Regions from separate parts of the Homo sapiens genome. Here all the other regions are linked to region 1. The links are contacts of gene promoters, found by promoter capture Hi-C in blood cells and fetal thymus (Javierre and others, 2016). All regions are on one chromosome and are shown on one strand. The core of a region is centred on a gene start or on the middle of the fragment in contact, and the rest is flanking DNA. Distances in the headings are between cores, read along the strand shown.

Region 1 (3,633 bases), core at 450-2,949:
TAGGCAGGGATCCAAGATCCATTATGAGCCTGAATCCTTTAGCCTAACATCAAAGCCCCTCACTACCGGCTGCCCAGGCTTCTGCTCCAGCTTACACCTGTAATCCCAGCAATTTAAGAGGGCAAGGTGGGAGGATTGAGCAAACCCAGGTACTCGAGACCAGCCTGGGTAACATAGCAAGACCCCATACAAAAAATTTAAAAGTTAGTGAGGTGTGGTGGCACATGCCTGTGGTCTCAACTACTTGGGAGGCTGAGGCAGGAGGATCGCTTGAGCCTAGAAGGCTGCAGTGAGCCATGTTTGTGCCACTGCACTCCAGCCTGGGTGACAGAGAGAGACCATTTCAAAATATAATAATAGTACCACAAAAAAAAAAAAGTGTGTAGCTATTTACATAGCATTTACACTGTATCAGGTTTTATAAGTAATCTAGAGATTATTTAAATTATATGGAGGGCGTGGTGGCACGTGCCTGCAGTCCCAGCTACCTGGGAGGCTGAGGTGGGAGGATTATCTGAGCCCAGGGAGTTCGAAGATGCAGTGAGCTATGATTGCACCACTACACTCCAGCCTGGGAGACAAGAGTGAGACCCTGACTCAAAAAAAAAAAAAGAAAAGAAAAAAGAGTATACAGGAGGGTGATGTGGTGGCTCACACCTGTAATCCCAGCATTTTGAGAGGCCAAGGAAGGAGGATAGCTTGAGCCAGGAGTTTGAGACCAGCCTGGGCAACATGGTGAGACCCTGTCTCTACAAAAATGAAATAAAATAAAAATTAGCCGGGTATGGTTGTTTATGCCTGTGGTTCCAGCTACACAGGAGGCTGAGGCAGGAGGATCCCTTGAGCCCAGGAGGTCGAGGCTGCAGTGAGCCATGTTCCTGCCACTGCACTCCAGCCTGGGTCACAGAATGAGACCTTGTCTCAAAAAAAAAAAGTATACAGCAATCCCCTGCGGATACTGAGGGATAAATGTATCTAACACACACACTCACACACGTGGGCTACTAGAAAGGCAGTGACTGCGAATTGCTACTTCCCAGCCACTGTGAGAGATGTGGAAACCCCTGCTCCAGGACAACCACCACTTCCCCAACTTGGCAACCTCTCCTGCTCACCATCTAGCACCTGCTTCCAAATACTTCAAGGACAGCAGGAAGTTCTTTTCTGACAAGATTTGGCCTAATTTTTAAATAGCACTCAGCACTTTTTGGCAGGCCTAGGGCTACTTCCAACATCCCATGGCTTTCCTTTTTTAATTTTACCAACTTTTTAAATACACTTTGTACTTTGGGCAGCCCGGGTAAGCGTTCAGTGTGAGGAGCTGACACGGCCATCATTTAAACTAGATTAAACGACACTGGACAAATAATCGCAGAGCAGCACAAAGTCGGGCTGGACGGGTACAGATGCAAACCCTCCACTCAGGGCTCGGGGGTCCCTCCTGCTCCAGGCGGCCCCACCCGTACAGCCGGGAAAGTGAGGTCGCACAGATGGACGGCCGCCTACCCACGCACAGTCGCAAACAGAGCTTCATGGGCACACAGGGGAAAATAAGGACACACACAGACAGCCGTGGACCCACGCTCGCGGACACAGCTCCCCGAACCTCCCCTCCCGCGCCGCCGCGAGAACCCAGCTTCCCAGCCCCCTTCCACTGCTCACCCGCGCCAGGCGCGTCTCGGGGCCGCTCCCAAATATCGCGGTATCTCTGCCGCTCTCCCGCGGAATCTGACTGGCACGCCTCACGAGAGCACCGGGCTGGCTGTATGTCGCGCAGCCTTCTGGGAGCTGTAGTCCACTTCTCTGCCTTCCGGGAGTTGTAGTCCACTGGGGAAATCCTGGAGCAAACCCTGGCCCTGTTCTTTGTATTGCTGGGACTCTCGATAGGGGCTGGCATAACTGTCCGACCTCCTTTCCTCACTCCTATCAGCCCCACACACACTGCTTGTTGCTTGGGGCCTTTTTTTTTTTTTTTTTTTTTTTGCTGTTGTCCCAGGTTTATTGAAAATATTACAGTATCTCAAAAAGATTCAAACAGCTTCCACGTGGCGTTTTGAAATTCATCCCCACTGTTGGCTGAGTGACCTGCAGGTTGGACAGACTGCCAAAGTCCAAAAACATCAGCATTTCCTTAATGTCAGGATATGTTAATACTTCAATGATTTCCTGATCCAGGGCTGAGACCTCAGGAACATGATTATCTCTCCTTTCTCTCTTCTCCTCCTGCAACTTGATGCAGATACCTCTCACTGAGCGCTTCAAATCAGCTTCATCACATGCATGTTGTAGCCTGCTATCTTGTTGGGGAGCTGTTTTTTTTTTTGTTTTTTTTTTTTTTTTTGAGACAGGGTCTGGCTCTGTCACCCAGACTGGAGTGCGCAGTGGTGCTATCTCCACTCACTGCAACCTCCACCTTTTGGGCTTAAGCCATCCTCCTATCTCAGCCTATGGAGTAGCCAGGACTACAGGAGTGCACCATCATGCCAGACTAATGTTTGTATTTTTTGTAGAGACGGGTTCTCACTCTATTGCCCAGGCTGGTCTCAAACTCCTAGGCTCAAACAATCCGCCCACCTTGGCCTCCCAAAGTGCTGGGACTACAGGAGTGAGCCACCACGCTCGGCCCTGGGGAGCATTTTGCTGGAAATAATGGTGATCTCCTTGCACATGTGTTGTTTGTGTGGAAGTTGCTGCCCGGGTGTGTGTATTACTTTTTTATGACGAAGTATAGAAAAGGGCTATCTTCATGGTATTAGTGTGAATGGGGCCCATGTTGGCAGGTCCTTAGTAAAAGAGGGCTCGTGGCACTTAATATTTACCAAGCCTCTTCTATTTTAGGTGCACAGGATACAGAGATAAATCAGATGCGTCCCTGTTCTTGAGACAAACAGGGACACAGAAAATGACAGGGTAAGATCCTCCATGAGGAAGCAACACCTCTAGGCAGGAAAGCCTTCTTGAAGGAGTGACTTGAAATGAATCTTGAAGGACAGCCAGGAGGTTAGATAGAGGATCCCAATAGCGATCCAGGTGGAAGGCATCAAATGGGCAAAGGGAAGGCGGCAGAAGAACACACACTGGCATGCTTCCCTGCCCCCTTCATTTTCTAGCCTTCACAGGCCCCAGGAACCTCTGTATTCATTGAGGTGGCTGAACCAGCTGCGGGTCCCCTGCCCTGAGCTGAGGTGGGGCCTCTGCTCTACCCCCGCCCTTAGCCGCAGTGGACCATCTGGGCCAAACCATCCCTTACGCAGGGATCCAGCCGTGTCTTTTTTTTTTGAGATGGAGTCTTGCTGTGTCGCCCAGGCTGGAGTGCAGTGGTGCGATCTCGGCTCACTGCAAGCTCCGCCTCCTGTGTTCACGCCATTCTCCCGCCTCAGCCTCCCGAGTAGCTGGGACTACAGGTGCCTGCCACCTCGCCCGCCTAATTTTTTGTATTTTTAGTAGAGATGGGGTTTCACCGTGTTAGCCAGGATGGTCTCGATCTCCTGACCTCGTGATCCACCCGCCTCAGCCTCCCAAAGTGCTAGGATTACAGGTGTGAGCCACCACGCCCGGCCGATCCAGCCTGCTTCTTCTACTTCCTCCTCCCAAGGCAGGGGGCCTAGGTGGCAATTTCATCACCTACTGAAG
Region 2 (3,633 bases), core at 795-3,294, 420 kb before region 1:
TGTTTATTTATGCAGTAATGTCTAAATGAGCCTCTGGTTAATTATCTGAAGTGAAATTCTAGATTTGTGCTTTGGTTAGTAGGGCCTGAGTGGTACCCTGTGCTATATTTATGTGAAAAGGGTAGGTGGGTCCTACCTTCTCTGCTAAGGAAGTTGCAAAAGCAATAGCATTTTAGTTTAGCAAATGATGGCTGTAATAGAATTGGTGGGGAGACAAAAAATCCAGGTGGTTTTTTCTGATGCCATAAACTGAGAGAGATAGTGGAGAACGATTGACCATTGAGGAAAATTTGGGCTACATATATAGTTCCCATGATTTGCAGTGCTGTATACTGGGGAACACAGAAGAGTCTATAAGGATTCAAGTAAGAACCTGGTTTTGCTGTATTAGGAACATTTTCATAAATGCTTCATAATCTCCAGATAATTATTTTATATACTATAATTTTGTTCAGAGATAAATAGCTTAGAAAGATTGGCACTTCGTAATTAAGAGGGTTTTAATAATTTACATACAGAGAAAGACTTTTTTTCTTTTTTAAGGAAGGAGGTGTGTAGTAATTTGACAAGATTCCTGGTGAAGTATAATTCTTTTTACATCTTCAGTGGGAGCAGACAAGACACTGGAGAGCTGTGCATGGCAGATGTTAGTACCTGGGAATTTTAACTGGAATTAAGAGGTTATATCCCTGGCATTCAGTAGTTTAGCATAGTGCTTTTCATGGCTTTCTCTCTTTTCTGGGCAATCCACCAGCCAAGAGTTTGTTAAGCTTTACTTTCTGTAGGCCTTTAAAAAAATAAATAGTATATGCTTTTTCAAAATACACCTTCCTCGCCCCTTGAAAAATAAAAGCTGATATTTATTGAGCACTTACTGTGTCACAGATACTGTGTTAGGCACTAGACTTTTTTTTTTTTTTGAGATGGAGTCCTGCTCTGTCTCCCAGGCTGGAGTGCAGTGGTGCAATCTCAGCTCACTGCAACTTCCGCCTCCCGGGTTCTAGCGATTGTCCTGCCTCAGCCTCCACGAAGAAGAAGCTGGGGCGCCACCACACGCCTGGCTAAGTTTTGTACTTTTGGTAGAGGCAGGGTTTCACCATGTTGATCAGGTTGGTCGCAGACTCCTGACCTCGTGATCCGCCCGCCTCAGCCTCCCAAAGTACTGGGATTACAGGCATGATCCACTGCACCCGGCCGCATAATGTCTTTTTTTCTCATGTCTTTTTTTTTTTTTTTTTAGACGAAGTCTCGCTCTGTCACCAGGCTGGAGTGCAGTGGCATGATCACAGCTCACTGCAGTGTTGATCTTCTGGACTTAAGCGACCCTCCTACCTTAGCCTCCCATGTAGCTGGGACTACAGGTGTGTGCCACCACGCACCTGGCTAATTTTTTTTATATTTTTATAGAGGTGAAGTCCTGCTGTGTTGCCCAGGCTGGTCTCGAACTCCTGGGCTCAAGAGGTCCTTCTGCCTCAGCCTCTCAAAAGTGCTAGGATTAAGACGTGAGTCACCGTGCCCGGTCATGGGTGGCAATTTCTACCTGATGTATTTCTTATTTGCCCCTTTTGCTTTTGTTTTCCCTACCCACTTTTTGTCTTGTATGCTTGTATGTTACCCATATTTCTCAGCATGACAGTGGACCCTTCATGAGTCTTCTTGGTGTCCTCCAGGGCTAGGCTTGCTGACATATGGGCTATTGGAGGATATGCAGGTCCACATCCTTTATTTGCAGTTCTGAAATGCAAGAGTTTTTGTTTTTTGGTAAGTCTAGTTCCACAACTAGTTTTGGGGTACAGCCTGACCTGGGCTATCCTGCATGATGCAGAAATGTGACTGCTTGATTATGGGGAGCTACTCAGCCCTAGCTGGGAGAGAGAGATGATACAGTATATGTACCATATTACCTTTCTAAAATCCAAACAATGCTGATGACTCTAACGGGGATCTCTCCCTCTACCATAGACTAATATGTTTAGTGGCCCACTCAAGGTCTCCACTCGATGTCTCCTCTTGGATAACTAAGAGACATTGTTGACTCTTCTGTGTCTTTTTCATATGTGGTCCATCAGTAAATTTTACTGCTTTATATTCAAAATACTATCCAGAATTAGACCACTTAGGATCTGCATCTCCACTGCCCTAGTCAGTGCCTGTGCATCTCTAGCTTGGATTCTATTCTCCTTGTTTTGTTACTGCGGCTCTTAAATGTGTTCTCAACATAGCAACCCAAGTGATTCTTTTGAAACCTAAGTCATACCGTGTCACTTCTCTGCTTAAAACCATCCAGTGGCTTTCCATTTCAGTCTGAGTATTAAACCTGAGTCCTTATTTAGATATGTCTGTAATGAGCTGGGCGCGGTGGCCCATGCCTGTAATACCAGCACTTTGGGAGGCTGAGGCAGGCGGATCACGAGGTCAGGAGATTGAGACCATCCTGGCTAACATGGTCTCCACTAAAAAAAATACAAAAGAGTTAGCCGGGCATGGTGGCACACGCACCTGTAGTCCCAGCTACTCGGGAGGTTGAGGCAGGAGAATGGTGTGAACCCGGGAGGTGGAGCTTGCAGTGAGCCAAGATCGTGCCACTGCACTCTAGCCTGGGCGACAGAGCGAGACTGTCTCAAAAGAAAAAAAAAAGGATATGTCTGTAATTTCACCATTTTGGGAGCTCAAGTGGGAGGATCGTTTGAGTCCAGGAGTTTGAGACCAGCTTGGGCATCATAACAAGACCCTGTCTCTATAAAAAAATTAAAAATTAGCCAAGCATGCTGGCGCGTGCCTGTAGTCCCAGTTACTTGAGAGGCTGAGGCAGGAGGATTGCTTGAGCTCAGGAGCTTGAGGCTGCAGTGAGCCATGACTGTGCCACTGCACCCCAGCCTTGACGACAAAATGAGACCCTGTGTCAAAAAATAAAAAAACACCTGTAAGAACAAATCTGATGTACCCTCTGCCTGCCACCCTTATCCTAGTACCTCTCTGACTACATTTCTGACTAGTCCTTCTTTCGTTTTTCTTCAGCTACCCAGCCTTCATGCTGTTTTGGAACATGTCAAGCACATGTGAGCCCTCACAAAGACATGAGGGTCTTTGCGGTTGCTGTCCCCTCTGCCTAGAAGGCTTCCTCCACTAATTTCTGCATGACTAGCTCCCTCACTTCCTTTACTCAGAAGTTACCTTATCAGTAGGTATTATCTGACCATTCTTATCTACAATTTCAAAAACTCTTCCTTGCCTTTTGTTCTTGATACCTGTCACTGCCTACTATTCTAAATATTATACTTTGTCTATTGTGTCATCTTTCACTAAAATATAAGCTTCTTGAGGGAAGAGATTTTTGTTTACCGTTGTATCTCCAGCTCCTAAAACACCTGGTGCATAGTATGTGCTCAGTAGATATTAGAGAATGTATACATGAATGAATGATTTGGTTTCCACCACAGACAAGACAAAGCAGTATGCTGAGCATGGTAGAGGATACATAGATGGTTAAAGATGTTATGTGCCCATGTTTGTGTGGGAGCAGAAGAGCTAATGTGATAAAAGCAGTGTGAGATGTGAGTGACACTTCCACCTGTCCTTTCAAGAACTATCTCAAGTTCTATTCTTTGTAATGCTCTATTTTCTTTTCTTTCT
Region 3 (3,633 bases), core at 346-2,845, 390 kb after region 1:
GAGAAGGCAGAGGAGGTGAGGGCTTTGTGCCCTGAGAAGCTCTGCACACTCAGGACGACAATGGTTCATCCTGAGAACTCCAGGAGGGCAGTGGTCTGCTGGGCTGACATGCACTTGGTCTCTAGCACTCAGCCCAGCCAGCTTGCAACTCCTAGGGCCTGTGCCCTGGCCCAGCTTTAAGAAGGCCAGCCTTTGGAGAGGCATTCGAGTGGTGTCTGGAAAACAAAGACACCCTTGGGGTGACCTGGGCCCTAGTCCCAGCCTGGGCTGCTCTCTGCTCATAGGGACTTTCAGATGGCACTCTTTCCACCTGCAGATCTGCCCACTAGCCCTGTGGACCTGGTCATCAACTGCCTGGATTGCCCTGAGAACGTCTTCCTGCGCGATCAACCCTGGTACAAGGCAGCTGTGGCCTGGGCCAACCAGAACCGGGCACCAGTACTCAGCATAGACCCTCCTGTGCATGAAGTCGAACAGGGCATTGATGCCAAATGGTCACTGGCACTGGGCCTGCCTCTGCCACTGGGGGAGCACGCAGGCCGTATCTATTTGTGCGACATTGGCATTCCCCAGCAGGTCTTCCAGGAGGTGGGCATCAACTACCACTCGCCCTTTGGCTGCAAGTTTGTTATCCCACTGCACTCTGCTTAGAGGGTTCCTGCGCAGGCAGGACTCTGCTGTCCCCTGCTGCTCCTGATAACAAACGCCTTAAGGATATGAAGCTTCATGGACCTTGTTAAAGTTTTTTCTCTTTTGGGTTTGTTTCTTCTGTGAGAGAACAGAACTTACTTAAAACTGACCTGTCACTTGCTCTTAGCCAGGGAAGTCTTTCCCACTGGGTTCCGGGCTGGGTGGCAGGCTGAGCGTGCAGCAACTCCAGGCATCTCTACCCTCAGCCCCCTGCACGGCCAGGTGGGCCTTTGTTTACAGCCGTAGGCAGCTCTCAAGACTGTGTTTCAGGTTTACAGCCACTGGGCCTGGGCACACACATTGAAGAGTGGGCCAGGTCCTGTCTGGGGGCCTGTACCTGCTCTATTTCAGAGCTTGTGGCTTTGTGTCTCCCCTGCTTTCCCCACGCAGACAGCCCTTCCTCTGTAGAACCAGCTGCACGGCAGCTGTCCACCAGAGGGCAGACCTGCACTCTCCATTCATGTCCAGGGCTGTGACAGACCAGGCCTTCCCCTAGCCCCACAAGTTGATTTGGGGGGTTTTGACCCTTACTCCTGAGCTGATCCAAGTTTTATGCTGATTTTTCCAAGGATCTCTCCCTCCTTTTCCCTCCATCACTCAGAGGTAGGGAAGGGGGCGGCATTAGGATGGTGTTACTGTATTGGGATTTTATGTTGTTCTGTCGTCTTCAGCACAGGTAGTATAAGGTTATATTACTGTAGAACCACAGTGCCCATCTTGCCAGCAGTGCCCGCCCCCACCCTCAAAGCTGAGCAGGTTGAGCCTTTGCCTAGTCTGGGGCCAGACCCCTCAGATGGGGATATCCCTGGGGGAGCCTGGTGCTGAACCAGAAGAGGCTTCCTGGTGCTTCTGTCCTAGGCCACCACTCCTCCAGCCCTTTGCCCGCACATACATGCCCCACCTACTCTTTCATCCCCTCTGCCCTTCCCCTGAAACGGTCCTTTGCAGCTGTCATCCCAGAGCAGGCAGATGGGCTCCCGTGCTTGAGCTCCACCCCAGCTCTTACATCATCTGGGCTTTGAACCTTTTACATTTGTCCAGTCTAGATGAGTAGGCTTGGGGCCAGCACCCTGTCTCAAAGATGGCAAAATGAGGCTAGTTCTGGATGAGCTAGCTGGTGTGGGTTCCAACCATAGGAACACACTGATGCTCAAATCCTAAGGTGCCAAGCTCTAGGCCCTGGAGGCTGGTAGAACAGGATCTATGCCTGGAATCCTGGCAGGGATTCCTGTCAAGGACTTGTGTTTAAGCCTGCTTCAGGGCTTCAGGCTGCTTCTGCTCTGTGTCTGCCCAGGCTGGCTGAGCGGGTGGATGGGTGGACAGAAGGGCTCACCAAGGATTGTGGACATAGGGTAGGCCCTGGTACCACGGGTTTCAGGCTGTTATCACTTCCCTTGTAGGAACATAGCCAGAAGCAGATGAGCCAGGGTAGAGGGCTGGCCCCTCCTCTCATCTTCCCTTCAGTCTTAAATTGTCTCCAGCGATGGGAAGAGGCCAGGGACTGTAACCCTTGTGCTGTGTATTCTCTGAGCCTCTGCTCACTCTCAGGGCCAAGCAGCTCCCAAGCCGGGGCCCTCTCTTGGCCAAAATCTGAGGAGCAGTCTAGGTTACAGGCTTTTTGGTAGGTAGGTTCTGGCTGCCTGTTAATGCAGTTAGGCCCCCTGATTAGGTACAGTGAGAAACAAGCTAGAACAACCCTGGCCCAGAAGACTGTCCACTCCAGCAAGATCCAGGGATGATAGCCTTGCAGGGCCACTGGGAGTTTGTGCCCAAGCTTCTCCCTCTTCTCTCCCCAGGGGGCACTGGGACTGGTCCCTGCCCTCATCCTTAGCCTGGGCCTTCCCCAGAGGTATTAAAGAGAAGTATGATTCCTCTGTCTTCAGTTCTTTTCAGGGGCATCCTGCCCATAGTACCCAGTTCCCAAGGGGCCCCCAGTCACGTGGTGAAGCCTAGCACTCATGCAGCTCTTAGGGAACCAAAAACCAGCACTGAAATAAAGCTGAATGACTGACTGAGTCCTGTGCCGTGTGACTTGCTCTGTAGGCTGTCATGAGGTGCTGTCTGTCCCAGCCTAGGAACCCGCCCCACTCGTCTCCTGCCCTCAGCAGGCCATAGTTGTTGGGCACATACAGCCTAAAGTCCTGGCCAGTAATGGGACTGGCAGGCTGTGGAAAACCAGACCCCACCTGGCTAGCCACGGTGGGCTGATTCCCTTAGGTTCTCTGGGGCTGAGAGGTACAGAAGCCAGCAGGGCAGAGGTGCCATCTAGGACTGCTCAGCAGCCTGGGCCCAGAGGATGTCCCCAATTCTGGTCTTACCCCTGCCTAGCTCTTCTGTGCCTGGCCCAGTTCACACTTAGCTCTCCACAAGCTGAACTGCTAAGAAAGACTTTATTAATAAGGTCAGGTAAGGGGAAGGCAAGGAGCCTGGAGATGGACACACTGGTACCAGGGGTTACAAACAGTAAGAAACACTTTATTATAACTTTATAACATATAAATAGCTTGGGTCAAATCTGTGCTTTCTGGCAGCTGGGCACCAAGTCTGCTCCCCTGCAGGCTCCTGCCTTCCTTCACATTGCACTGTTCATTGGGTGGCTCTGGCCTGGGGCCTGGCGGTCGAGGCTGGAGTCAAGGGGCTGGGCGGCCCAGTCCCGCCCTCCATCTCCTCATGCGGTGGCCTGTGCCTGTCATCTGCTTGGGTTGCGGCTGGTGTGGAAGGACCGCTCCTCAGGGGTCAGGCCAGCAAAGAAGGGGTGCAGCAGGGCCTCGGCCAGTGTGATGCGCTGGGCAGGGTCAAATTCTAACATCCTCCTCATCAGGTCAAACAGCTGCACGTGCTCCAGGGAGTCTTGGAGCATGTAACTCTGCTCAGGGACACAAGGTGCCTCAGTGTGACGGCAGGGTCGTGGGAAGCCACAGCAGGTCCCCTTGCCTCTGGGAC
Region 4 (3,633 bases), core at 540-3,039, 370 kb before region 1:
TGAAGTTGGGGGAAATGGGAGATGCTCAGTGAGACTATCAGTACCTGTCTCTGAGGGTTATTAAGATGGAAGAGCCAAAGGCTCACATTCTTCTATGGTAAGTGCTTGTTGTGGTACTTTCCATGCTTTATGCATTGGTCAAATGTATATATTAGTACATGCTTTATGGCAAATGTGACTTATCTAGGCCACTTTAGCCCTTTTAACTGAAATTGTCCATTGATGACTAAATAATAGTTCTTTTGATTTTGCATGGCATTTTAAGATTATTATGTTTTGCATGGTGAAGAAAATCAGTATCCTAAGGTTTATAGTACTTTCTTGAAGCTGTTTTTAAATTATTTAAGATCTGTGTGTATTGTTACCCTTAGCAAGTATCTTGCCATGGTTAGCAAACCAGCTCTGAGAACTGGCATTTTTCTTTCATGTTTCTGGTATTGATTGCTTTGTTGTTTTTTGTTTGTTTGTTTGTTTGTTTTGTTTTGTTTTTTTGAGACGGAGTCTCGCTCTGTCTCCCAGGCTGGAGTGCAGTGGCGCAATCTCGGCTCACTGCAAGCTCTGCCTCCCAGGTTCATGCCATTCTCCTGCCTCAGCCTCCCGAGTAGCTGGGACTACAGGCGCCCGCCAACACGTCCGGCTAATTTTTTGTATTTTTATTAGAGACGGAGTTTCACCGTGTTAGCCAGGATGGTCTCGATCTCCTGACCTCGTGATCCACCCGTCTCGGCCTCCCAAAGTGCTAGGATTACAGGTGTGAGCCACTGCGCCCAGCTGATTGCTTTGTTTTGTTTTGTTTTTTTGAGACAGGGTCTCATTCTATTGCCCAGGCTGCAGTGCAGTGGCACAATCACAGTTCATTGCAGCCTCAACCTTCCAGACTCAAGTGTGATCCTCCCACCTCAGACCCCCACCCCTACCCGCCACCGAGTGGCTGGGACTACAGGCATGTGCTACCATGCCTGGGTAAATTTTTTTTTTTTTTTTTTAAACTTTAAATTCTGGGATACATGTGCAGAACGTGCAGGTTTGTTACATAGATATACATGTGCTTTGGTGGTTTGCTGCACCTATCAACTCATCATCTAGGTTTTAAGCCCCACATGCATTAGGTATTTGTCCTAATGCTCTCCCTCCCCTTGCCTCCTACCCCCTGTGGCTAATTTTTTGTTTTTTATAGAAACAGTGTTTTACTACATTACCCAGGCTGGTCTCAAACTCTTGGGTCCAAGCGATCATCCCACCCTGGCCTCCCAAAGTGCTGGGATTACACACATGAGCCACCATACCTGGCCTGATTGGCTCCTTTTGAAAGAAGGCTAAATTAGGGACCCCTTTCTTTTTAAAGACAGAGTATTGCTCTGTCAACCAGGCTGGAGTGCAGTGGTGTGATCTCGGCTCACTGCAACCTCTGCCTCACGAGTTTAAGCCATTATCCTGCCTCAGCCTCCCAAGTATCTGGGACTACAGGTGTATGCCGCTACACCCGGCTAATTTTTTTTGTATTTTTAGTGGAGATGGGTTTCACCATGTTGACCAGGCTGGTCTTGAACTCCTGACCTCAAGTGACCCACCCGTCTTGGCCTTCCAAAGTGCTGGGATTACAAGTGTGAGCCACTGCGCCTGTCCCAGGAGCTTTATTTTGAAGTAATTAGGAAGGGAAGAGTGGAGTGAATAAATGAGGTGGTAGAAGGCCCCATACCACCTATATCAGGAGAGGGACTACTGAAAGTGGGCTCAATCCTCAGTGTGTTTATATGTCTGGTTTACATTATCATTTTTAAAAAGGGAAGTCTGGTTTGTCTAAAGATGTAAAATGATACGTATCCTATTTAGTGTATCTGTTACATTAAATTGACTGGCTGTGCTTACTTGTGTGGATAGGTATCTTGCTGGTTTTTGTTTGTTTGTTTGTTTGTTTTGGTACTCTTTTAGCTCTTTGCCAGTTTTCCCGCCTCACACTTGGTTCAGCAGTTTCTGGTGTGTTTTTAATTGAGAACCACATGCTGCCTGGCCACTGGCAGGTGGTTGGCCATCTTTGCCCCAGCATTTATAAGGAGTTGCACCTATTTGCAGAAAGCTAAATCAAGACAGATGTTAACTTCCATAGGGAGTGTTATCAAGCTAAAGAAGGCATTTCTTTGTTACTTACGTTTAGTAAGGTTAACTGATGAGTTTAGCAGAGCTTGGCATTTGTTTTTGACAGAGTGTTCCTATCCTCTCTCAGCTGGTATGCCTCCAAATGAGAGGCAACTTCATTTCCCATTTGTGACTACAAGGGCAAACATGAAAGAAGTGGGGTGTGCATGTGTTTAAGATTTGGTGGGATGAGCTAGTTTGAAGGAATGTGCGTTACCAATCAAGATAGGTTAGTAATGCCTCAGTACAGACAACTCCCACATCTGAGTGACTTGTAAAACCAATGGGTTTAATTTCTAATCATTCTACATGTACATTGATGTTTAGCAGGGGATTTGGCATATCAGAATTACTTGGGGATTCAGGCCAAGGGATTGCTGCCATTATGAATGTTGCTAGTCACTAGGAGGAAAAGAGAGCTTGGAATGATCTCACACCTTTAAATGCTGCAGCCTAGAAGTAATAAACATTACTTCTACTCATCTCATAACAACTCATTGGTCAAAACTAGTTACATGGCCCTATCCAATCATAAGGGAGCCAGGAAGTTTAGTCCATTTTTTGTTCATAATTGGAGAGCAAGAGGGGCCAGAAATATTGACCAAATGACTACCACATTCCCAAAACAAGAAAACTTAGGGAACACTTCTGCAAACAGTTGGTTGTAGACCGTTGAGACTGCTCATTTACTTCATTTTCTGTTTCTCATTTAGAGAACCTTATTTTAAGCTAGGGAAAAAGTAGACTCAAAGGTTGCCAGGAGTCCAATAAGAATTTAAATGGTTACCCGCAGCTACAACAGTGAACTCCTTAAGTTATGATAGTCACTGCTCTTATTATTACTGGATGTGGAACAAGGCTATTGAATATTTAAGTATTTGAATATATTTAAATATTTCAAGTTAAACCAAAAAACTCTCAAGACAAAGCGGTCTTTTGGGATTGTTTTGATTGTTATTGTTTGTTCATAATGGATCTTAGCAATTCAGGAAAGTTCAGGGAAACGTTTCAGTAAAGTCATCTCCTGTTTGGTTCCTCTGGTCTAAAATCAGTAGTCCTAAGCAAAGCACACGGTGGTGGTGGCGGCAGCAGCGACGGTGGTGGTAATAACTACCATTTATCCAACTTCATCCTGTGGTTCTTATGTGCCAGGTATTGTGCTAAATACTTTATGTGGATTGTATCATTTAATCCAGACACAGGGTTGTGAGAGTAATAGGTGCTGTTATCCCTATTTTGCTGATAAAGAAACAGTCTTATGTAGCTAGTAGGGCAGAACCAGGATTCAAATCCAAGGAGTTTGACTCCCTACCTTATTCTTCTAAACACTACTCTATTCTATTTTGATTTGGGTCCTGAGCATACCCTTCTTTGTCTTCCTCTTCAGCTTGATGTAGTTTTAGAGACCAATCTGGCAACAATCCGGGTTCTGGAAGCAATACAGAAGAAGCTTTCCCGCTTGTCTGCTGAAGAACAAGCCAAATTTCGCTTGGACAA
Region 5 (3,633 bases), core at 723-3,222, 350 kb before region 1:
CAGCATTTTTGTTCACCATTACTTTAATGGTGCCAGTGCAGATGTCAACACAGCAAAAAAGGGAAATAATGTTTTAGTATTATTATGAGAATAGTTTTGATCTCACAGATCTCCTGAAAGGGTCCTGGGACCCTTTGGACAAAGAACTGCTGTCTACAGAAATACTTGTATACAAAGATTCTCACTGAAGCAATATTTTGGGCTGGTTGGTTTTTTTTTTTTTTTTTTTTTTTTAAGACAGTGTCTGGCTCTGTGTCCCAGGCTATAGTACAGTGGTGGGATCTTGGCTTTCTGCAACCTCCGCCTTCTGGGCTCAAACGATCTTCCCACCTCAGCCTCCCAAGTAGCTGAGACTCTAGGCACACGTCACCACACCTGCCTAATTTTTTTTTTTTTTTTGTAGAGAAGGGGTTTTTGCCATGTTGCCCAGGCTAGTCTCAAACTCCTGAGCTCAAGCAATCCACCTGCCTCCCAAAGTGCTGGGATTATAGGCATGAGCCACAGTGGCCAACCTGAAGCAGTGTTTTTAATAGCAAGTTATGAGAAACAATATAATTGTCTAGCTGATAACTTTTTTCACTGGATGTTGAGATTTAGCAAGCCTACCACCCCTCAGGGCATCCATTCATGTGAATTATCTTCTTTCTTGTGTATGTAGAATGGCACTAGTTTATATCATCTGGGGGAATTTTTAAAAATAGTCATTCAAATAAATTTTTGTTATGTGGTTCAGATGAGGAACCTCAGTTGAAAGAAACTGTTAAGGAATGGTAAATTGGGGTACATTTTTCTGCAGCAGTTAAAGAGAATAAGACAAATCTATCATGAAATGAAAAAATATTCATGACAGTAAGTGAAAAGTTGAGGACAAAATATATAGTATGATCCTATTTTGTCTTAAAAACAAATCCCAAAGCAGAACTGTAGCTGGTAATTACATGTGTAAATTTACAGACAGAGGCCTAGAAGTTTCTCATTAAAACTCTTAACTGGCTACATCTGCTAAGTCAAGTAGGGGATGGGTGAAGATTTCTGCTTTTTATTCTGTGTACCTTTGCAGTTGAAATTTTTTTTGCAGTGAAACAACTGAACATTTGTGTATGTATTTAACAAATTGGGATGAGTACTATGCAAGCATATAATAAAGAAAACTCACTTTGGGGAAGTCACGGGAATCTGCATCTGGACGAGCTCTCATCCTCCGGGGCTTTTCTGCAATAGGAATCTACGGCGGATCCGGAAGTGTCAACGTGGTCGAGAGCAGCAGGAAAAGGAAGGGAAGGAAGGAAACAGCAAGAAGACCATGGAGAATGTGGATAGTCTGGATAAGCTGGAGTGTAGATTCAAGCTGAATTCCTACAAGATGGTGTATGTGATCAAATCAGAGGACTATATGTATCGGAGGACCGCCCTGCTCCGGGCTCATCAGGTGAGAACCAGTAACTGAAATTTCTGTACACATCTCCCACCCTAGCTAGGACCAGGGGAGGCCCAGAGTCTTCTGATTGTTTTTCTTTGTTTATGCAAACCTGTTCTTGGAGCTGAGACTTAACTGAGGAAGTACGTATGTTGGTTGCTAAGGATGCTGTGACAAAGTACCACAGACTGTGGCTTAAATGACAAAAGTTGTGGAGACTAGAAGTCCAAAGTCAAGTGTCAGCAGTGTTGGTTCCTTTTGAGGACTGTGAGGGACAATCTCTTCTAGGCCTCTCCTAGCTTCTGGTTCTTTGCTGGCAATCTTTGGCATTCCTGGGCTTGTAGATCCCTGCCTTCATCTTCATATGGTGTTCCTACCTGTGTGTGTGTGTCTGCCTCCAGATGAGGTCACATTCGGAAGTACTGGGGGCTAGGACTTCAATGTATGATTTTTTGTTTGTTTGTTTGAGACAGAGTCTCACCTGACACAGCCTCTCAAAGTGCTAGCATTACAGGCGTGAGCCACCATGCCCGGCCAACATAAGAATTTTAAGGAGAATACAGTTCAGCCTGTAAGAGCACGTAAATACCCGGTGGCACCTTTTTGGTGAATTTACTCCCAGTATTTACATCTCAAGTAGTATCTGATCTTTTGCTTGTATGAATCCTACCTGTCTTTACATTCTGTCTCAATTGTGAAACCTTCCTGGTGCAGCTGCGTATAGGGTGTTATGCCAGGCCCTGGGACTACAGCCATGAAGTAGAGCAGATGAAGTAATGCGATGATATGCACTACCAGGGAAACAAATCAGGTGAAGTGATCAAGGGTAACTAGCATACAGGCCTTGCTTTCACTGGAGGAGGCTTCTCAAAGGAGGTGATGCTTGAGGCCTGAATAATGACAAGGAATTAGCCTGGTGAAGAGTAGAGGATGGGTGTTTTCTAGACAAAAGAGCTAGTACAAGGCTGGGAGGAAAGGACTTGGCATATTCAAGAAATTACAAACACCATTGTGGCTCAAGGTTGCATGAAGTTAGAAGGGTAGGCAGAGGCCACATCACTTTGTCTAATGATAGGCCATGGTTTGTAATTTGTTTGAGATGCACTGGGACATTTGACAAAGATAGCTTGGAGTTCTGTGAGGACAGTGGAGATGGGTATATATAAAGTTGGAAGAGCAGAGACCACTCAAAAGGGTGCCCTTGTCCAAATGAGATGTGGGGGCCACCCGTACTACTAGGGTGGCAGTGGAATTGCAAGAATTACATTGTAGACTTTATGCATTTATTTTTGAGACAGAGTTTCGCTGTGTCTCAAACCATGCCTGGCTGATTTTTTGTATTTTTAGTAGAGATGGGATTTCACCATGTTGGCCAGGCTGGTCTCGAACCTGACCTCAAGTGATCCACCCTCCTCAGCCTCCCAAAGTACTGGGATTACAGGCGTGAGCCACCACGCCCAGATGTAGATATTATTTAGATATTTAATTGACAAGAGATGGTGTTGGATCAAATGTGGGGGTAAGCAAAAGAAGGACATCAAGGATGGTGCCTGATTAGTTTTGGGGTTTTTTGGTTTGTTTTGTTTTGCTTAAGTGGAGATTTTAGGGGCTCACCTGTTAATAGGAAAGGGTTATGAGGTTTGGGAGACAGATGAAGTGCTGTTTTAAGTTTGAAAGGACTACAAAACTTTCAAATGGGAGATGTTGAGCAGACAGTTTAATGTATAATTAACCCTTTAACGACAAGGGGTTTGGGGCACTGGCCCCTGCACAGTCAAATCTGTGTATAATTTTTGACTCCCCCAAAATGGAACTACTGATAGTCTACTACTGACTGGAAGGCTTACTGATAAACAACATATTTTGTATGTTGTATGTATTATATATACTGCATTCTTTTTTTCTTTCTTTTTTTTTTTTTTAATGAAAATAGACACGGGGTCTCCTTACGTTGCCCAGGGCTGGTCTCAAACTCAAGGGTTCAAACAACCCACCCATTTCAGCCTCCTAAAGTGCTGGGATTACAGGCGTGAGCCACTGTGCCCAGCCTATACTGTATATTCTTACAATAAAGTAAGTTAGAGAAAAGAAAATGTTAAGTCATAAGCAAGAGAAGATACATTTACTCTTCATTAAGTGGTTGTGGCTCATCATAAAGGGTCCTTATTCTCATCTTGTTGAGTAGGCTGAAGAGGGAGGAGGAAGGGAGGGGTTGT
Region 6 (3,633 bases), core at 642-3,141, 300 kb before region 1:
GGAAATAAACTGAAAGATATCAGCACCTTGGAACCTTTGAAAAAGTTAGAATGTCTGAAAAGCCTGGACCTCTTTAACTGTGAGGTTACTAACATGAATGACTACTGAGAGTGTCTTCAAGCTCCTGCCCCAGCTTACCTACATGGATGGCTATGACCAAGAGGACCAGGAGGAACCTGACTCAGATGCTGAGGTGGATGGTGTGGATGAAGAGTAGGAGGGCGAAGAAGAAGACGAAGAAGACGAGGAGGATGAAGATGGTGAAGAAGAGGAGTTTGATGAAGAAGATGAAAATGTAGAAGGAGATGACGAAGATGAAGTCAGTGAGGAGGAAGAAGAATTTGGACTTGAAGAAGATGAAGATGAGGATGAGGATGAAGGAGGAGGAAGAAGGCAGGAAAGGTAAAAAGAGGAAGAGAGAAACGGATGATGAAGGAGAAGATGATTAAGACCCCAGATGACCTGCAGAAACAGAACTGTTTAGTATCGGTTGGACTGCTCATGGATTTGGTAGCTGTTAAAAAAAAAAAAAAAAAGGTAGCTGATACAAACCCCAGGACACCCACCCACCCAAAGAGCCAAAGAATAGTTCCTGTGACATTCCGTCTTCCTCCATGTAGTCCCTCTTGGTAATCTACCAATCTACCATCGAGCTTAGGGACTTCACCCCAACAAAATTGTAAGTGTTGTTAGGTTTTTGTGTGAGACTCTTGCTGTAGCGTAGATAGCTGTGATTGGTGAGTCAACCATCTGTGGCTACCAGTTACACTGGGACTGTAACAGCATTTTTACTTTCTGTACAACAAAAATCTTTGTAAATAAAATCTTAACATTAAAATAACAATAATAATAATAATGTTGATTGTATGCAGGTCTGGCAAACCTTTGACACACTGAATGACTGGCATCTCTAATCCATCCAATTCACAATTGCCCCTGGCCAGGCCCTGTCCTAGGCTAGGTCACCTGCTGGAAGATAAGACTGTGGATTCTCTCCTGCTTGGCTTTGGGGTAGAGATGCCAGATAAGATATAGAACACCCAGTTGAATTTAGATTTCTGATAAAAAATAAACTATTTTTTAGTAAGTATGTACCATGCATATTTAGGACATACTTATACTAAAACTTATTTCTCTAAATTTTTTTTTCACCATCTTCACAGGTGTTGATATTTCTCTAAATTCTTTAATGTATGTATGTAGTTACTTTAAAGCTCTTGCCTGCTAATTCCAATGTGTGAGCCATTTATGGGTCTGCTTTCTCTCTTTTTTTTTGTGTGTGTGTGTGATAGAATTTTGCTCTTGTAGCCCAGGCTGGAGTGCAATGGCACCATCTCGGCTCACTCCAACCTCCACCTCATCTGGCTGGTCTTGAATTCCTGGTGATCTGCCTGCCTCAGCCTCCCAAAGTGCTGGGAGTACAAGTGTGAGCCACCATGCCTGGCCCTTTTTTTGTTGTTGTTTCTTTGAGATAAGTTCTCACTCTGTTGTCCAGGCTGGAGTGCAGCGGCATGATCTCAACTCACTGCAACCTCCACCTCCCAGGCTCAAGCCATCCTTCCACCTCAGCCTTCCAAGTAGCTGGGACCACAGGCACGTGCCACCAGCAGTCCTGGCTGGTTTCGTGGAAGACAATTTTTCCACAGACGGGGTTGGGGGTGGTGGTTATGGTATGAAACTGTTCCACTTCAGATCATCAGGCATTAGATTCTCATAAAGAGTGTGAAACTTAGATCCCTCGCATGTGCAGTTCACATTAGGGTTCACGCTTCTATGAGAATCTAATGCCTGCTGATCTGACGGCGGGTGGAGCTCAGGCAGTAATGCTCGCTGTCCACCACTCACCTCCTGCTGCGCAGCCTGGTTCCTACCAGGTTACCTACGGGTACAGTCCACAGCCTGGGGGTTATGGGCCCCTGCACACCACCATACCCAACTCGTTTCTGAATTTTTAGTAGAGATGGGGTTATGCCATGTTGCCCAGGCTGGTCTCGAAGTCTTGAGCTCAAGTGATCTACTTGCCTTGGCCTCCCAAAGTGCTGGGATTACAGGCGTGAGCCACCATGCACAGTGGGTCTGTTCATATTGACTGGGTTTCTCTTAATTTTAGGATATATTTTCTCACTTTTTTCACACATCTAGTATTTCTTGAGCTGTTGGACGTTGTGAACCTTCATTGTAGAGATGTGGGTTATGTTATCCTACTCTAGTGTTGAGTTTTATTTTGGCAGGGAATTAAATTACTCGTGGGTTAACTTGATCATGTGTGTCAAGGGTACATTTTAGGCTTTGTTAGGGTGACCTGTTTTTCAGTTTTGCCCTTATTCCCAGGGAATCTTCCTTAATCCCAAGGCATGGCCTTCTAGGCCCTCTGTGAATGTCTGGAATATTCATCAAGATCTGAGATTCCAAGAGTGGAGACTCTGGCTGAGCCAGAATTCAGATGTATCTCCAGCAGTCTGTGACTGAAATCGCTGTTTAGCTTTCAGCTCCCCATCGGCTGTTCTGTGCTGGGCCTTGCAGAGCCTCAATCTGCACACTCATTGTTTGGGATTTGGCCAAGGACCTGCAGCAACCTCTGTAAGATTTCTGGGGCTTCTCCTCTGCAACTCCGTCCTTTCTGATACTCTGCCACACACATTTTAGCAGCCCTGAGCACCAGTCTCTGTTTCCTTCACCAAACAAGACTGATCCTCTTGGCTTGGACTCTGCTTCCTCGTGCTGTCATTGAGGGTTTAGAAACTTTCCCCACCAGAAAAATGTAGCAGTCACTTCATGTGATTCCCTTCTCTCAGATTGTACATGGAACTGCCTATTGCCCAATGCCTGAAGACAATTTCTTCATGTACTTTGTCCAGCTTTGTAGTTGTTTATGCTGGGAGACCATCATCAATACAGGTACTCTATCATGGTCACAATTCGAAGTATGATTAATATCATATTCATTCTATTCTAAAAGTAGAGAAGACAAAGACCAAAAATTCTAAGAAAAATGGAAAAAAAAATATGAAAGTTCAAAGAAAAAGAAACCCAAATGCCGCTGACACACAGGAAAAAATGTTTAACTTCACTGATAATAAGAAAGATACAATTTTAGGCCGGGTGCAGTGGCTCACACCTGTAATCCCAGCACCTTGGGAGGCTGGGGTGGGAGGATCGCTTGAGGCCACAAAGTGAAGGTGGCAGTGAGGCAAGAGGGCACCACTTGGGGCGACAGAGTGAGAGCCTGTCTCAAAAAAAAAAAAAAAAGATACAGACGTAAACAACATCCTGCAACCTCTACATGTGGCCACGATTGCTAACAGGGACCAGATTTGCCTCCCACCTTGAACAACTAGAAAAATGGAACAACATATATAAAACGATAGTTTTCAGACATCAGAGAACAGGTCGAGCAGAACTATGATCCCTAAAAGAAGGTGAACCCTACAGTGTCCTCGGTTTACTGCCGGAAGCACTTACAGGCTCCAACACAGGGAGGGGAATCCAAAGTCCAGTGGTCTTGGTGGATTGAGGAGACAGAGATCAGAGCTTGGGAAGGTCTTCAAGGCCGGTAGAATTTGTGAGGTAGAGTACCAGGGAGGAGGTGGGAGAAGAGAGCGCGTGAGCTCTGGAGAGCTATGGAAGATGCCC

Evidence for each region. The method cuts DNA at HindIII sites, captures the fragments that hold promoters and counts their contacts. A CHiCAGO score of 5 or more calls a contact.
Region 2: a contact is called between a fragment that was not itself captured here and the fragment with the promoter of PPCDC in region 1, in 1 of 17 cell types (neutrophils). The highest score is 9.4, in neutrophils.
Region 3: a contact is called between a fragment that was not itself captured here and the fragment with the promoter of PPCDC in region 1, in 1 of 17 cell types (naive B cells). The highest score is 5.1, in naive B cells.
Region 4: a contact is called between a fragment that was not itself captured here and the fragment with the promoter of PPCDC in region 1, in 1 of 17 cell types (neutrophils). The highest score is 6.0, in neutrophils.
Region 5: a fragment that was not itself captured here is called in contact with the fragment with the promoter of PPCDC in region 1 in 1 of 17 cell types (neutrophils); the score reaches 8.2 in neutrophils.
Region 6: a fragment that was not itself captured here is called in contact with the fragment with the promoter of PPCDC in region 1 in 1 of 17 cell types (neutrophils); the score reaches 7.1 in neutrophils.

Annotation. Positions count from the first base shown.
Region 1 is chr15:75,021,656-75,025,288 of GRCh38, reverse strand. It overlaps PPCDC (phosphopantothenoylcysteine decarboxylase), which reads right to left and starts at 1,699. Exons shown (of 6, transcript NM_021823.5): 1 at 1,663-1,699. The HindIII fragment of the contact is 7,713 bases long and covers 1-3,633 here.
Region 2 is chr15:75,445,781-75,449,413 of GRCh38, reverse strand. The region is part of intron 1 of SIN3A (SIN3 transcription regulator family member A); the gene reads left to right. Among named protein-coding and RNA genes, the nearest start is that of SIN3A, 4.1 kb to the left of the region's middle. The HindIII fragment of the contact is 2,544 bases long and covers 773-3,316 here.
Region 3 is chr15:74,629,630-74,633,262 of GRCh38, reverse strand. EDC3 (enhancer of mRNA decapping 3) reads left to right here. Exons shown (of 7, transcript NM_025083.5): 7 at 317-2,705. The coding sequence ends at 651. CLK3 (CDC like kinase 3) reads right to left here. Exons shown (of 13, transcript NM_001130028.2): 13 at 3,062-3,556. The coding sequence ends at 3,380. Among named protein-coding and RNA genes, the nearest start is that of CLK3, 16 kb to the right of the region's middle. RefSeq lists enhancers at 963-1,112, 1,173-1,232, 3,438-3,633. The HindIII fragment of the contact is 1,742 bases long and covers 725-2,466 here.
Region 4 is chr15:75,396,387-75,400,019 of GRCh38, reverse strand. SIN3A (SIN3 transcription regulator family member A) reads left to right here. Exons shown (of 21, transcript NM_001145358.2): 13 at 3,524-3,633. Among named protein-coding and RNA genes, the nearest start is that of MAN2C1, 30 kb to the right of the region's middle. The HindIII fragment of the contact is 3,599 bases long and covers 1-3,588 here.
Region 5 is chr15:75,373,461-75,377,093 of GRCh38, reverse strand. SIN3A (SIN3 transcription regulator family member A) reads left to right here. Exons shown (of 21, transcript NM_001145358.2): 20 at 1,222-1,429. Among named protein-coding and RNA genes, the nearest start is that of MAN2C1, 6.7 kb to the right of the region's middle. The HindIII fragment of the contact is 8,348 bases long and covers 1-3,633 here.
Region 6 is chr15:75,318,589-75,322,221 of GRCh38, reverse strand. It overlaps the pseudogene ANP32BP1. Among named protein-coding and RNA genes, the nearest start is that of COMMD4, 16 kb to the left of the region's middle. The HindIII fragment of the contact is 3,837 bases long and covers 1-3,633 here.